Linked DNA regions of Homo sapiens: all the other regions are linked to region 3. The links are contacts of gene promoters, found by promoter capture Hi-C in blood cells and fetal thymus (Javierre and others, 2016). All regions are on one chromosome and are shown on one strand. Each heading gives the region's core, a stretch centred on a gene start or on the middle of the fragment in contact. The rest is flanking DNA. Distances are from core to core; before and after follow the strand shown. Region 1 holds the start of DIAPH1 (diaphanous related formin 1). Region 2 holds the start of CSNK1A1 (casein kinase 1 alpha 1). Region 3 holds the start of RBM27 (RNA binding motif protein 27). Region 4 holds the start of HDAC3 (histone deacetylase 3).

What was found. The method cuts DNA at HindIII sites, captures the fragments that hold promoters and counts their contacts. A CHiCAGO score of 5 or more calls a contact.
Region 1: the fragment with the promoter of DIAPH1 here is called in contact with the fragment with the promoter of RBM27 in region 3 in 1 of 17 cell types (naive CD8 T cells); the score reaches 5.0 in naive CD8 T cells.
Region 2: a contact is called between the fragment with the promoter of CSNK1A1 here and the fragment with the promoter of RBM27 in region 3, in 1 of 17 cell types (fetal thymus). The highest score is 7.2, in fetal thymus.
Region 4: the fragment with the promoter of HDAC3 here is called in contact with the fragment with the promoter of RBM27 in region 3 in 1 of 17 cell types (neutrophils); the score reaches 5.1 in neutrophils.

Annotation. Positions count from the first base shown.
Region 1 is chr5:141,617,490-141,620,334 of GRCh38, forward strand. DIAPH1 (diaphanous related formin 1) reads right to left here and starts at 1,511. Exons shown (of 28, transcript NM_005219.5): 1 at 1,309-1,511. The coding sequence starts at 1,425. RefSeq lists silencers at 1,089-1,285, 1,096-1,145, 1,206-1,865. The HindIII fragment of the contact is 3,913 bases long and covers 380-2,845 here.
Region 2 is chr5:149,549,943-149,552,786 of GRCh38, forward strand. It overlaps CSNK1A1 (casein kinase 1 alpha 1), which reads right to left and starts at 1,497. Exons shown (of 10, transcript NM_001892.6): 1 at 900-1,497; 2 at 133-239. The coding sequence starts at 1,022. It also overlaps a transcript of ARHGEF37 not described here. RefSeq lists enhancers at 1-758, 1,005-1,064, 1,195-1,254, 1,285-1,954, 1,654-2,447 and 2 more. The HindIII fragment of the contact is 4,606 bases long and covers 1-1,813 here.
Region 3 is chr5:146,202,003-146,205,028 of GRCh38, forward strand. It overlaps RBM27 (RNA binding motif protein 27), which reads left to right and starts at 1,603. Exons shown (of 21, transcript NM_018989.2): 1 at 1,603-1,822. The coding sequence starts at 1,764. RBM27-POU4F3 (RBM27-POU4F3 readthrough) reads left to right here and starts at 1,603. Exons shown (of 20, transcript NM_001414499.1): 1 at 1,603-1,822. The coding sequence starts at 1,764. RefSeq lists enhancers at 1,039-1,188, 1,659-1,818. The HindIII fragment of the contact is 5,706 bases long and covers 1-3,026 here.
Region 4 is chr5:141,635,495-141,638,514 of GRCh38, forward strand. It overlaps HDAC3 (histone deacetylase 3), which reads right to left and starts at 1,355. Exons shown (of 15, transcript NM_003883.4): 1 at 1,242-1,355; 2 at 1,054-1,136. The coding sequence starts at 1,296. RELL2 (RELT like 2) reads left to right here and starts at 1,503. Exons shown (of 7, transcript NM_173828.5): 1 at 1,503-2,915. The coding sequence starts at 2,732. RefSeq lists silencers at 828-1,122, 1,132-1,181, 1,242-1,531 and enhancers at 2,042-2,091, 2,792-2,911. The HindIII fragment of the contact is 11,354 bases long and covers 1-3,020 here.

The sequences.
Region 1 (2,845 bases), core at 261-2,760, 4.6 Mb before region 3:
AACATTTTCTTCCTGTTTCCATCGCTTTATCAGTTTTCTTCCCAAATTTGTGGAGCTGGGTCAAAATGTTGGGAGGTGGGACTAAGAGTTACAAGCCATTTGTTTAGTAGAAAGATACACTAGTGTAAGGGCATAAATACCTGGAAGAGAAGACAAAAGAGCTACAGTTATAACTAGCTATTATAATGATCATCAATATCCAAGACTTTTCCTCTCCTGGACAGTGCCCCGTATCTTACAAAGCTTTTATAGCAAAAAAGCAACCAAACGGCTCCCTGGAGAGAGGCGTTGGTGTGGGCAAAAGGTAATGAAATATGATAGGGTTACATGTATATCACTATTCCTTCACTCGGATTGAAAGTAACTGGCACTTGAGGAAAGCTTACTCTTCTACAGGCACGCAAAGGGAAGCCGATAGTCGCCTTGGGGCACAAGAGGCAGTAGAAAAGGAGTAGAGGAGACGGTTATCATGGGAAATGTATAAAAAACAATTCAATTACAAACTTCTTGAACTCGCAGTCCAACTTTCTTCCCACAGGAGAGGTTTATCACCATCCTAGGTCAAGAAGGGCACAATCATGAGAGTTCTAATCCTCTGAAAAGTGATAAGCAACAGGGCAAAGAGAGAGGTTCTCTGGAGAGAGGAATACTGGTAAACAAATAAACGTCATGCCCCAGTGACCATAGGACCTGGGCAGGAGCCCATTCCTGTAATCGCAAGGACAAACGTCCAAAGAAGGAGTTGGGGGTAGGGCTCAAGTCAGGTAACATTCCTCAGGGGAAGGATTATCAAGTGACACCGGGCGGAGGGCCCACGGGGGACTGGGCGGGAGGAAAGTTAGCAGGTAAAAAGGATGAATCATGGAGAAGGAAGTGACCTTTAGGAGAAGGAAATACGAGAATACCAAAAAAGGTGTAAGGTTAAGAAGAGAAAATGGACCCAGAAGAGGGGACCAAAAAAGAGGAGGCGTGTTCGGGTACTGGAGGAAGAAGAAAGGAAGTGAGGCTGAGAGGGGAGAGACGGGGCTGAGAGCCGGCCGGGGATATGCGGGCGGGAGGGCAGAATGTAAGGGCTGGGGAACGAGGGAAGCCCCGAGGTGGCCGGGGCAAGAGCCGGGTGGGATTCCGGGGCTTCCCGAGGTCCCGAAGGGAGAGGATGTCGGGCTGCAGAGCTGCGGACCGAGCGAAACGAGGAAGGAAGGCGCGGGGGCGGCTCCCCAAAGCCGGGCAGGCGCCCCAGGGGCCGGCTGCAGGGGTCCAGAGGGCGGTTACGGGGCCAGGCAGGAGCGGGATGGGAGGGACACTCACAAATTTCTTAGATTTGCCGCCGTCGCCGCCCGCCGAGGGCAGCTCATCTGGGCTCCGGCCCTTCTTCTTGTCCCGGGTCCCGCGGCCGGGCCCCAGGCTCCCGCCGGGCGGCTCCATGTCCCGGTTCACGCTGGCCGGCGACCCCGCGCCTACGCCGCTCCCGCCTGGCAGCTCCGCGCCCGCCGCCGCCCAGTCGCTCTTTAGCCAGCCGCCGCGCCCCGCCTCATTAGCATGCCGGGCTGCGCGCGCCTCATGAATATACAACGACGACGCCTCGCTCCCGCCCGCCTGCCCCACTTCCGCCCGGACCCGCAGCCCCTACCAATGGGGGAAGGGAGAGGGGCGGAGGGAAGCCGCGGAAGCGCGCTACCTGCCCAGCGGACCTAACCATTCGGACCCACGTGGGGGGGGGTGGTGAGTGGGCGGTGCAGCTCTCCGCGGCCGCGGCGGAGAGCACCGCCCCCTGGCGGTTGGAGCAGCGCAGGCCTCTGGCTCCCACGCAGCGCCCACGTGGCTGTACAGCCTGACAGCCTGGACCCTCTCACATCCCAGACCAAAAATCGCGTGAGACCATTATCCTGGCAGAAAATTAGTGACAGGTTTTCCAAGAGAATGCAGTTTTCAATGTGTGCAATACCCATGGAACACATGAAAAAAATTATAGTGATAGCCACCATGTTTTGAAAGCAAGGTAGCAAGAACAGAGCTCGGTCCAGGGCAAGCACTAGACTAAACCAGACTCGCTCTGGAGTTTAATTTCCTAGTTCGAATTCCAGGTTAGGTACCATCTAATTGTTTCTAATCAGGACAAACTAATTATTGCCAACATGTGCCTAAACAGCAATAACAGTTACCACTTAACCATGCCCTTTGCTCTCTGCTAGGCACTAGGCAAACACTCTACATGTATTTTTCTAAGTCCCCACAGTCCCATGTGATAGATTCTGCTAGCCTCACCATTTTATAAATAGTAAATTTGGACTTTTGAGAGTTGAAGTGACTTGCCCAAGAACGCATAATTGATATAAAATTTAAACCCAGCTTAGTCTGATTTGCTGCCAAACCCTATGTTTAACCAGGATTCCCCACTGACATAAACCAAACATGAGTGAAAAGAATGAGTATTCTCCAAGAGTATATTCTTTGCTCTTCTAGCATGACTTTCTCCCTAAGCAATTTCATCCATTCTCCCAGCTACATCTGTCCCTTGTGTGACAGTTACGTGGCTACCAGTCGGCCTTCACAATATGGACTGAATATTCTTGACCACAGCTAGCAAGATTTCAAGCATAAGTTCCTGAAGGGCAGAGTCAGTGACTTACTTACTCTAGAGCCCCAGTACCTAGTCAAGGGCCTGAGATATACCAGGGACTCTGCCAAGCTGGCTGGCTCCTAAATTTGGCATTCATCTCTCTTGTGGTCCAGACCTTCTGATGGTGATCGGATAGAATGTTACATAGAGCTGTCCATCCCATACTTCAAACTTGACTTAGTGCTGAGCTTTCCAGACATTTTGTCTAAAAAGTCCAAAAGCTAC
Region 2 (2,844 bases), core at 247-2,746, 3.3 Mb after region 3:
ACCACCAGCTATAGGGAACCCAGGTAACTAAAACACCAAGACCCGGATTCAGCTGGTCTCATTACCTGCCTCTACCCACTTCCCCATTCCGTGCTTCCCTCAGCGGATCGCCTATATGCACCGGGTTCTTACCGTATGTGGGGGATGCCAACCCCACCTTGAAGAATCTTATAGAGCTTGCTCTCGTACAGCAACTGGGGATGCCTGGCCTTCTGAGATTCTAGCTTCACTGCCACTTCCTGCAGGGGAAAGAGGGGATGATGGCATCAACATCCCTACGGATTCAATGTCACTTAGGAAAGGAGGGAGACATTAGCAAAACTCCAAGTCGCGACTACAAGAAGAAGTGAAAAGCTGGAAAGAGAAAGCTCTCGGTAATTATAAAACGAGGCAACCAGCCTCAAAGGCCTCTTCAGGGGGTAGTGACGAAATCCGTACGTCCTCTAAAGTGCAGGAAAATGATTCATCCAGAAAAAAGAGGCAACCTCTGAACGTAGTGAGAGGTTTTTAAGGAACTAGGCGATCGGAAACTGTTCTAATTGGAACAAGAGGCCCAGTAGAATTAAGAATTAAAAAAAAAAAAACATGGGAATCACTGAAAGAGGATTTTGCCGTTTCCACCTTAAAAGACGGTTAAAAAAAAAAAAAGCTCGACTAAGGGACATTTATGGGACGTGTTTAACAAGGTGGGAAACTAGTTCCCCCAACCTTTCTATCGGGTTCTTGACCCTTTTAGGGAGACAGCGGACGAGGTTCGTAAGCCAGGAAAACTAGCTCCCTGGACTCCCTGGCGAGTGCGTGCGATGAGGAGAGGCCCGAGCACTTTGGGGGTGCACGGTGGTGGTGGGGGGAATGAGTAAAAGCGCAGCGTTATCGTGAACCCCACCCCAGATGATTACCTCGCCGTTGGTGATGTTGATCGCCAAATAGATGTCCCCGAAGGAGCCAGACCCGATCTTCCGTACCAGTTTATATTTCCCTCCGACAATGAATTCAGCCTTGGAGCCGCTGCTACTCGCCATCCTGAGAGACGAAGATGGAGGCTGGGGCCAAGCCCCGACACCTCTGGGAAGAGGACGGAGGCCTCGGGGCTCCTACACTAGGCAAGGCTACGGAGGAGGGCGGCAGGAAACGGAACACGGAGGCCTTTACCGGGGTTCGGGGCCCAGAATCAGCAGAGGGGAACCTGATCACCGCCGCTCAGTCAGGTTTCTTTTTGCCAGGCCGCAGTTTGTGAAGGGCTTCTCGGCGGTTACCAGGCTGGGCCACTTGTTTCTCGGCGGCCGCCGCTGCCTCGCTTGCGCGGCGACGTCGCGGGCTGGAAAAGGGGCGCGGTGAGCTAGGGCGGCGATACCGCTGCCACCACTGCCGCCGGCTCCGGCCCAGAGGGACCCCTGTCACTCCGCGGACGACGCCATCTTGTTACTCCAGCTCCAGCCAACACAAAATGCCCCCAGTCCCCGGGAGCCGCTTCTTCACGGCGCAGAGCACTCTGGGAAAGGGATCTCGGGCGCTCGCTCCGAAGGATCGGCAGCGAGAGGGCGGAACCGGATCCGTGAGAGTCGCGGCCCACGCTCCGAGCGTCACCCTGTCACCGCCCAGCTGCGCATGAGCGCTGCAACTCCTGCTGACTGCGCAGGCGTGCCGCGGCCTGTCCTCACCCCCGTCCCGGGCTCTCTTCCACTTCCGGTCGGCGGCGGCTCAGCAGGTGTTACCTGTTACTCGCCTCGGACCCGCCGGGTCTCTGGAAGGCTGAGTGGCCCCCCGGCCTTGATATTGGGAGGAGTCACCTTCATGTTTCGTGGCAGATGAAAGCTTAAGGCCTCCTTAGGAGTTGGGTATTGACCTGTGCTCTTTGAGGCGGTTTTTAACCTTTGATCTTTCTTCTGGCCGTTCCCCCGGACCGGCCTATTCCAACCCAGTTTCTGTTTGGAAAGAGGCTGTCGCCTCTGGTGGAGAGGAAGAGAAAAGCAGCCAGCGTCGAGGAATCTCTCAGGGCTCTCGGTTGTAGCAGAGCCTAGCTAATTACCCTTCATAATTAGAATTGTCCTATCTACTACGGAGTGTTATAGACCCTCTTTCCACAGGAGGGGAAGAAAGAAAGAAGCCGGAATCCCCCTGCCATCCTATGTCTTTGCATTATTGCCTCACTACCACATATGATCTTCAGAAGAAAACCTGGTATGTTGCTCATAATGAAGATTAAGGATAGATGGAATCAACAGAAAATTAATTTAACAAGAGTGAAAAAACTGTTATGTCCCCTCAACCCCACCAAAAAAAAAAAAAAAAAAAAAAAAAAGAATCGTATGTTGGTCTTGTTGAAAACCTCAGTATTAACCTGAACAGAGTAGAGGTAACTATTACAAAATTTAATTGACAACATTTAAAACTACACGGTAATTTTTTTCTTTTTTACAAAAAATCGATCAGAGAATCAAATTTTGACCACGTTTTGTTTTACAAAATTTGACCTGGGAAAATTGGGCTTAGTAATAATAATGTTCACGAAAGAAAACTCCATGGTTGATGCTATCATCTTAAGTCAGACCTCAGTCGTAAAAATTTAAGCTAAGCCTATCCTAAATAAAATTTAATTAAAATAGAAATGGGGGGCGGGCGCAGTGGCTCACGCCTGTAATCCCAGCACTTCGGGAGGCCGGGGCGGGCAGATCACTTGAGGTCAGTTGTTCGAGACCAGCCTGGCCAACATGATGAAACCCCGTATCTACTAAAAATACAAAAATTAGCCGGGTGTGATGGCGCACACTTGTAACCCCAGCTATTCGGGAGTCTGAGAATCGCTTGAACCCGGGAGGCGGAGGTTGCGGTGAGACTAGATCA
Region 3 (3,026 bases), core at 353-2,852:
TCACGATCTTGGCTCACTGCAACCTCTGCCTCCTGGGTTCAAGCGATTCCCCTGCCTCAGTCTCCCGAGTACCTGGGATTGCAGGCGTGTGCCACCATGCCTGGCAAATTTTGTATTTTTAGTAGAGACTGGTTTCACCATGTTGGTCAGGCTGGTCTGGAACTCCTGACCTCAGGTGATCCACCCGCCTTGGCCTCCCAAAATGCTGGGATTACAGGTGTGAGGCACCGCGCCCAGCCTGGCCTACATTTTTAAATGGAGAAAAAAATGAAAAGATAATATTTCATGGTATGTGAAAATTATATAAATTTAAAATTTTATATAATTTTAATAAATGTTTGTAATACAGCCACAATCATTCCATTTACATATTGTCCCTGGTTAATTTTAAGCCAAGACATTGTATGACGAGTAGTTGCCATAGATACCTCAAGGCTCACAAAACCAAAATATTTAGTATCTGATCCTTTGCAGAAGTTTGCCTATACCTGTTCTATGTATATATAGGATGTCTGTTTATTTGAGGTTGATCCATTTCTTTTATATGAGGTGCGTGCTCATTAGGTATTTTTCAAAATGTTATTACAATGCATAACCCCATAAACTGTTCATCATCTTAAGAGGAGAAGCTCTGTTTTGCTCAGCATTGGACTCCTAGTGCCTTACTCAGTGCTGGCAATTGCAGGGACTCAGTATATGTTATTGGGTAAACATTTTAACATCAGTGCTAAATCAGTGATTTCAAAACTCCAGAAAGAATTTCTCACCTACTAGAAAGTAAGTTGACTATTTCAGTAGTTTCTAATTTGTCTTAAAAATTTTTTTGTAATCCTTCTTTGCTGATTAAAATTCTCCCTTCCCGTCCCCCAACCACTGAATTTTAGATATACAATGAAAAGATAATTAAAAACAAACTATTGGAGTCATTTTTCTTCCTAAATAAAGCAACATTTATTAATAGTACTAGCAAAATTGAAATGGCCTCAGCCTTTTACATCCGTGCGCCACGTTTTAAAAATGACGATTACTGGATTCCAAGGCATGGTTGTCAGAAACATTCTGCGTAATTAAAGCAGAGCAGCAGAAAATACAAACGTGAGTGCCAATCAACATGAGTGTGTAAAGAAAAAAAGTAAAATTTTGCATTCTGTGCAATGTGTCGAACGTGAACGTATTGCACGTTGTGTTGCAGATTTACTACAGCTGAGTCATTTCGGGACACGAGTGTGTGTTTCCAAGAAAAACGAGAGGAAGGAACCAGGCTGAGGGGCTCGCCGGGTTCCCCCAGGCACTCCCAGCAGCAGACACCGGTATTCCGCGGCGGGCGGCGGCGTGGTCAAAAAAAGGCGCCGCTGCCCCTTTAAGAGGCAAAGCACCTTTTCCAAGATACCATCTTGCACCAGGAGTTCACTTAAGCTCTCCACCTACCTTGCTATATCTCTCCTCCCTGACTGGGTACCGCCTGCCGGCGGGGCGAGCGAGCCTTTTCATTGGTCTTGCCCTCAGGGCCCCCTCTCTCTTACTGGTTCTCAGGCCTGCCACTCGGCACTGTCTCCCGCCCACCTCAGCCTTCGGGCTAGGTTGAGTGAGGGCTCTTGGGTTAGTTCCTGTTAGGCCCCGGCCGGGGGAGTAGGTTGAAGTCTCCTAAGATGCCCGGTGGGCTGGGGCACCGGGAGCTGTGAAGGGAACGTGAGGGGGCGGCGTAGTGGAGACCCACGGCAGGCCTGAAGAAGAGCGGCGGCCGAGCCCGCCTTCCCTGCACCATGCTCATAGAGGATGTGGATGCCCTCAAGTCCTGGCTGGCCAAGTTACTGGAGCCGATGTGAGTGAGCCGGGCTGGGCCGGGGCCGGCGAACGTGGGCGTTGGGGGCTCGCGGGGGCGTGGGGGAGGGGAGGTGGCGTGGGGGGCGGCGCTGAGGGGCCGCGGCCGGGAGGTCCCGGCGACGCCTTCCCTGTAGTACTATCACCATTGTGGTGGGGGTGAGGGTGGGAGAGGAGCGCTGGGGACGGAGAGGCGCCGTGAATATGGGGACTGGGGGGGCAGGCAAGGACAGCGAAGGCTTTTCAAACGCAAATATCGGGGTGCTGGAAGGGGTAGCAGGGGCCGTGAGGGAATTTAAAACATTGCTGTTTGAGAACTGAGAGAGAGGTAACGGGGCTCTTGAGGGATTTTTAAAATGTGAATATTGAGATGTCGAAGGGAATAGCAGAATATCAAGGGTTTGATAAACATTATTATTCCGGGACTGAAAGGTCTAGAAGCAAAATATCGAGGGCATTTTCGAAATATGAGGGCAGAAGCGGATAGCAGGGACATTGAAACTGTATAGCGATTATTGGTAAGTTCTGAGGGATCAAGAATATTGAAGGATTTGAAAAATACTATGGAGTAGATGAAAAGGATGTGTGGGCATTGAAGGGTTTTAGAAATTATTGGGGAGGTGATAAGTGTGATAGCAAGGATATTAAGGGATTTTAAAGTATTATTGAGGGCTTGATAGTGCTAGGGGAACTGATGACTTTTAGATACATAGAGGTTGGAAAAAAGAGGTTTCTGTAAGTTTAGTTGAAGGTTGAAAGGGCTACACTGGTATGCAGCATTAATTGGTGGAGGAGTATACCTAACAGTATGTAGGGATTTTTAGATACAGGTGGTGTTGGAGGAATAAAAGGAGCGGTAGAAAGAATAAGAGATTTGTAAGTATTCTTGTGCCATTGAGAGGACAGTTTTGTAAATGTTTTTGTAAGATTGAGAGGACACCTGAAGATAATTGGGGTGTAGTATGAGGGACCGAAAAGAATGAGAGACCTGTCTTTTAAAAATATTTTGGGTGGTGTTAGTAGAAATGTTATTGGGAGGCTTGAAAGAGGTAACAGATGTATCAACATTTTGTTTTATAACCTTTTTTTTTTGAAACAATGTCTCGCTGTGTCTCCCAGGCTGGAGTGCAGTGGCTGGATTTCGGCTCACTGCAACCTCCGCCTCCCGGGTTCAAGCGATTCTCCTGCCTCAGCCTCCCGAGTAG
Region 4 (3,020 bases), core at 105-2,604, 4.6 Mb before region 3:
ACATCACCTCAGTCTTTTCTATGACCAGTCCATTTGTCTGTGCCTTGGCACAAGCAATGAACATTCATTCATATTGTTCACTAGTTTCCCTAGCAACACATAAAGCCTGGGTTTAGCTGTTTTGTCTTATTTTTTCTTTTGAGACAAGGTCCTCCCTGTCAACTCAGGCTGCTGATCATAGATCACTGTAACTTTAAACTCCTGGGCCCAAGCCATCCTCTCGCCTCGGCCTCCCAAGTAGTTGGGACTACAGGCACACCCACCGCACATGGCTACTTTTTTTATTTTTATTTTTTGTAGATGTGGGTCCCACTGTGGCCCAAGCTGGTCTCCAACTCCTGGCCTCAAGCGATCCCCCCCATTTCAACCTCCCAAAGTGCTGGGATTACAGGCATGGGCCACCACGCCTGGCGTGGCTTAACTGTTACTATCCCATATCACAGCCATAAATTCCAAGCTGGGAAGACAGCATGTGTATGTCTGGTAGATGAAAAACTGGATAGCGATTAAGCAGAACCATGTAGAGGTATTCCAGGCTGAAAAAGGAATATCTAAAATATCGCCTCTGTTCCACACGCACATACACATTTACAAAGACGGCAGCATCGTTCCACCCTGGAGCCCTAGCTCCTTGGAGGTAAAGAAAGGTGGTAAAAGAGGAGTGGGAACTGAGGGTAAACCTCACACCCTGATACAGTGATATCCGCTCCCCTAACCCTAATTCCTGAGGCCAAGGCCCTATCCACACTCTAAAATGCAGAGGAGGAACACACCTTCTGTCTTCAAACCAGCCCCACATCACGCTAACCCTAGGCCAAGGGCTAGTGTGCCTACAGTCAGAGGGTGGCCGACCTGAGGTGAGAAAGTACTTTCCATTAAGCAGAGGACGCCACCCCCAACACCCTGCACTTTCAAGGTACTCCTGGTGACTTCTATCCAGCTCCCCGATACTCTAGGGGCGGGTCGCACTTCATGCACTCAGTCCAGCCCACCTATCCCTACGGCCACAGCTCGCCCCACCCCCCAACCCCCGGCCGAGGCGGCGGAACTCACGATCATCTTCTTATAGAGACCGTAATGCAGGACCAGGCTATGGGTCAATGCCAGGCGATGGGGCTTCATAGGGTGTCCAGCTCCTGGGGGTGGGGAGAAGAGAGTTCGTCAGCTCTCACCCCTGGAGTTGCAACCCCGCCTCAAAACCTCCGTGTCCCAACCCCTCATGCATATCCCTGTTTCCTCACCGTAGTGGAAGTTGCCCACGTCGGGGTCGTAGAAATAGGCCACGGTCTTGGCCATGGTGCCGGCGGGAGCAGGCCCCGCACCTCCGCCGCCCGCCGCCCGCGGCCGCCGCCAGCCCCTCCCCGGCCGTGCGTGCTGCGCAAGCACGTAGCCGGCCTCTGCGGAACTGGGCGTTGCGGCCCCGCCTCCATCCACACCCAGGCCACGCCCCCAGGGGAGCTCCGCCCCTCGCCCGGCTCAGCTCTCCCGGTATCTGGGGCTTTGAGCGTCCCGGGTTGGGCAGGGAACTGGCAGCATAGCTCCTAGGATGCGAGGGCCATTTGTCTCCGGCCGGGGGTCAGATCCTCGGGAAGCCGAGCCATCCCATCCAGCCGCTTGCCCCAAACCGGGCGCAGGCCGTGGTCACTTCTCTAGGAAGCTCCGAAGATCCCGCCACTCCGTCCCTCAAAGGTGCGGAAAGCCGGCTTCCCCCAGCCCTCGGAGAAGATTCCTGACTCTCCGCTCGGTCGGGGCATCTGAGGGCAGGAGCTGCGCCAGGCGTACCGGATAGACCAGTGGACAACACCCACGCCGGACCGCCTGTCCCCTACCCGGACCCAGACTCGGCGCCGCACATTGCCCCGGGGGGGCCCGGCGCAGTCACGCGCGCGCAGAGCTCACGCTCTCCGCCCCGCACACCTGCGCTCCGCCCCCTGGTCCTGGGCCCGCGACGGGTGAAGGCATTTGGGAAGCCAGGGCGGCTGCGGAGGCGATCTCCCTGACCCAGGGCCGGAGTTGCCCGGAGCCTGCCACCGCTCTCAGCCAGCCCGCATCCTTCTCTGTTCTTCCCTCCCCCCGCCTGCCACGGCGCGGGTATCCGCAGCCACAGCCCGGGGCCGGTGAGGCGGCGAAGGGGGAGGGGAGGAATCAAGGGATGAGCGCCGGAAGGGCGTCGGGGGCCCTGAGCCGCACTAGGACGCCCCTGGAGCCGGAACCCCAGCAGAAGCCGGAACCAGAACCAAATCACCGGTACCGGGTCGGCCAGGTGGTCAGGGTGGGAGAAACCAAAAAGGGAGAGGGGTGCGGGAGTACTGAGAGGAAGGGGCTGCAGAGGCCTGGCTCAGGCCGGCGTGGAGGAGGTGCGGGCGCTGACTCAGGCAGGATTTCTGCTCCCGCCGCCTAAGAATGCCGTCCCATCTCGTGCTGCAGTGTCCTTGGGAGGGACAGAAGCGCGAACAAGCTGGAAAGGGGAACGCTCGGGGCGTCGGGGAAGCGGGACCAGGGTCGTGGTAGAGAGCTTGCGTTGCCGCTGACCTCTTGCCGAAAGGCGAAACAGCACTCCTGGCCCGGACAGCTCCCTGGTTGGGTAGGGGGTGGGGCCGGACCTCAGCCGGACGTCTTAGACGTGCTTGTTTCAGATCCTGAGGACGGCATTCCTACCCCTCCCCCATTCCCAGCTGCAGCCCCCTAAACCCAGGAGGCGCCCTGGCCCGCGCTCGCCCCCCAGGGCCTCATGTCGGAACCACAGCCTGACCTGGAACCGCCCCAACATGGGCTATATATGCTCTTCCTGCTTGTGCTGGTCTTCTTCCTCATGGGCCTGGTAGGCTTCATGATCTGCCACGTGCTCAAGAAGAAGGGCTACCGCTGCCGCACGTCGAGGGGCTCTGAGCCTGACGATGCCCAGCTTCAGCCCCGTGAGTGAGGAGCCTGGAACCCTGGCTCAGTCACCTTTCACCCTTCTCCCCACACCTCTGCCTCCCTGACCAACAGACCCAGGCCAAATCCTGATCAAACCTGCT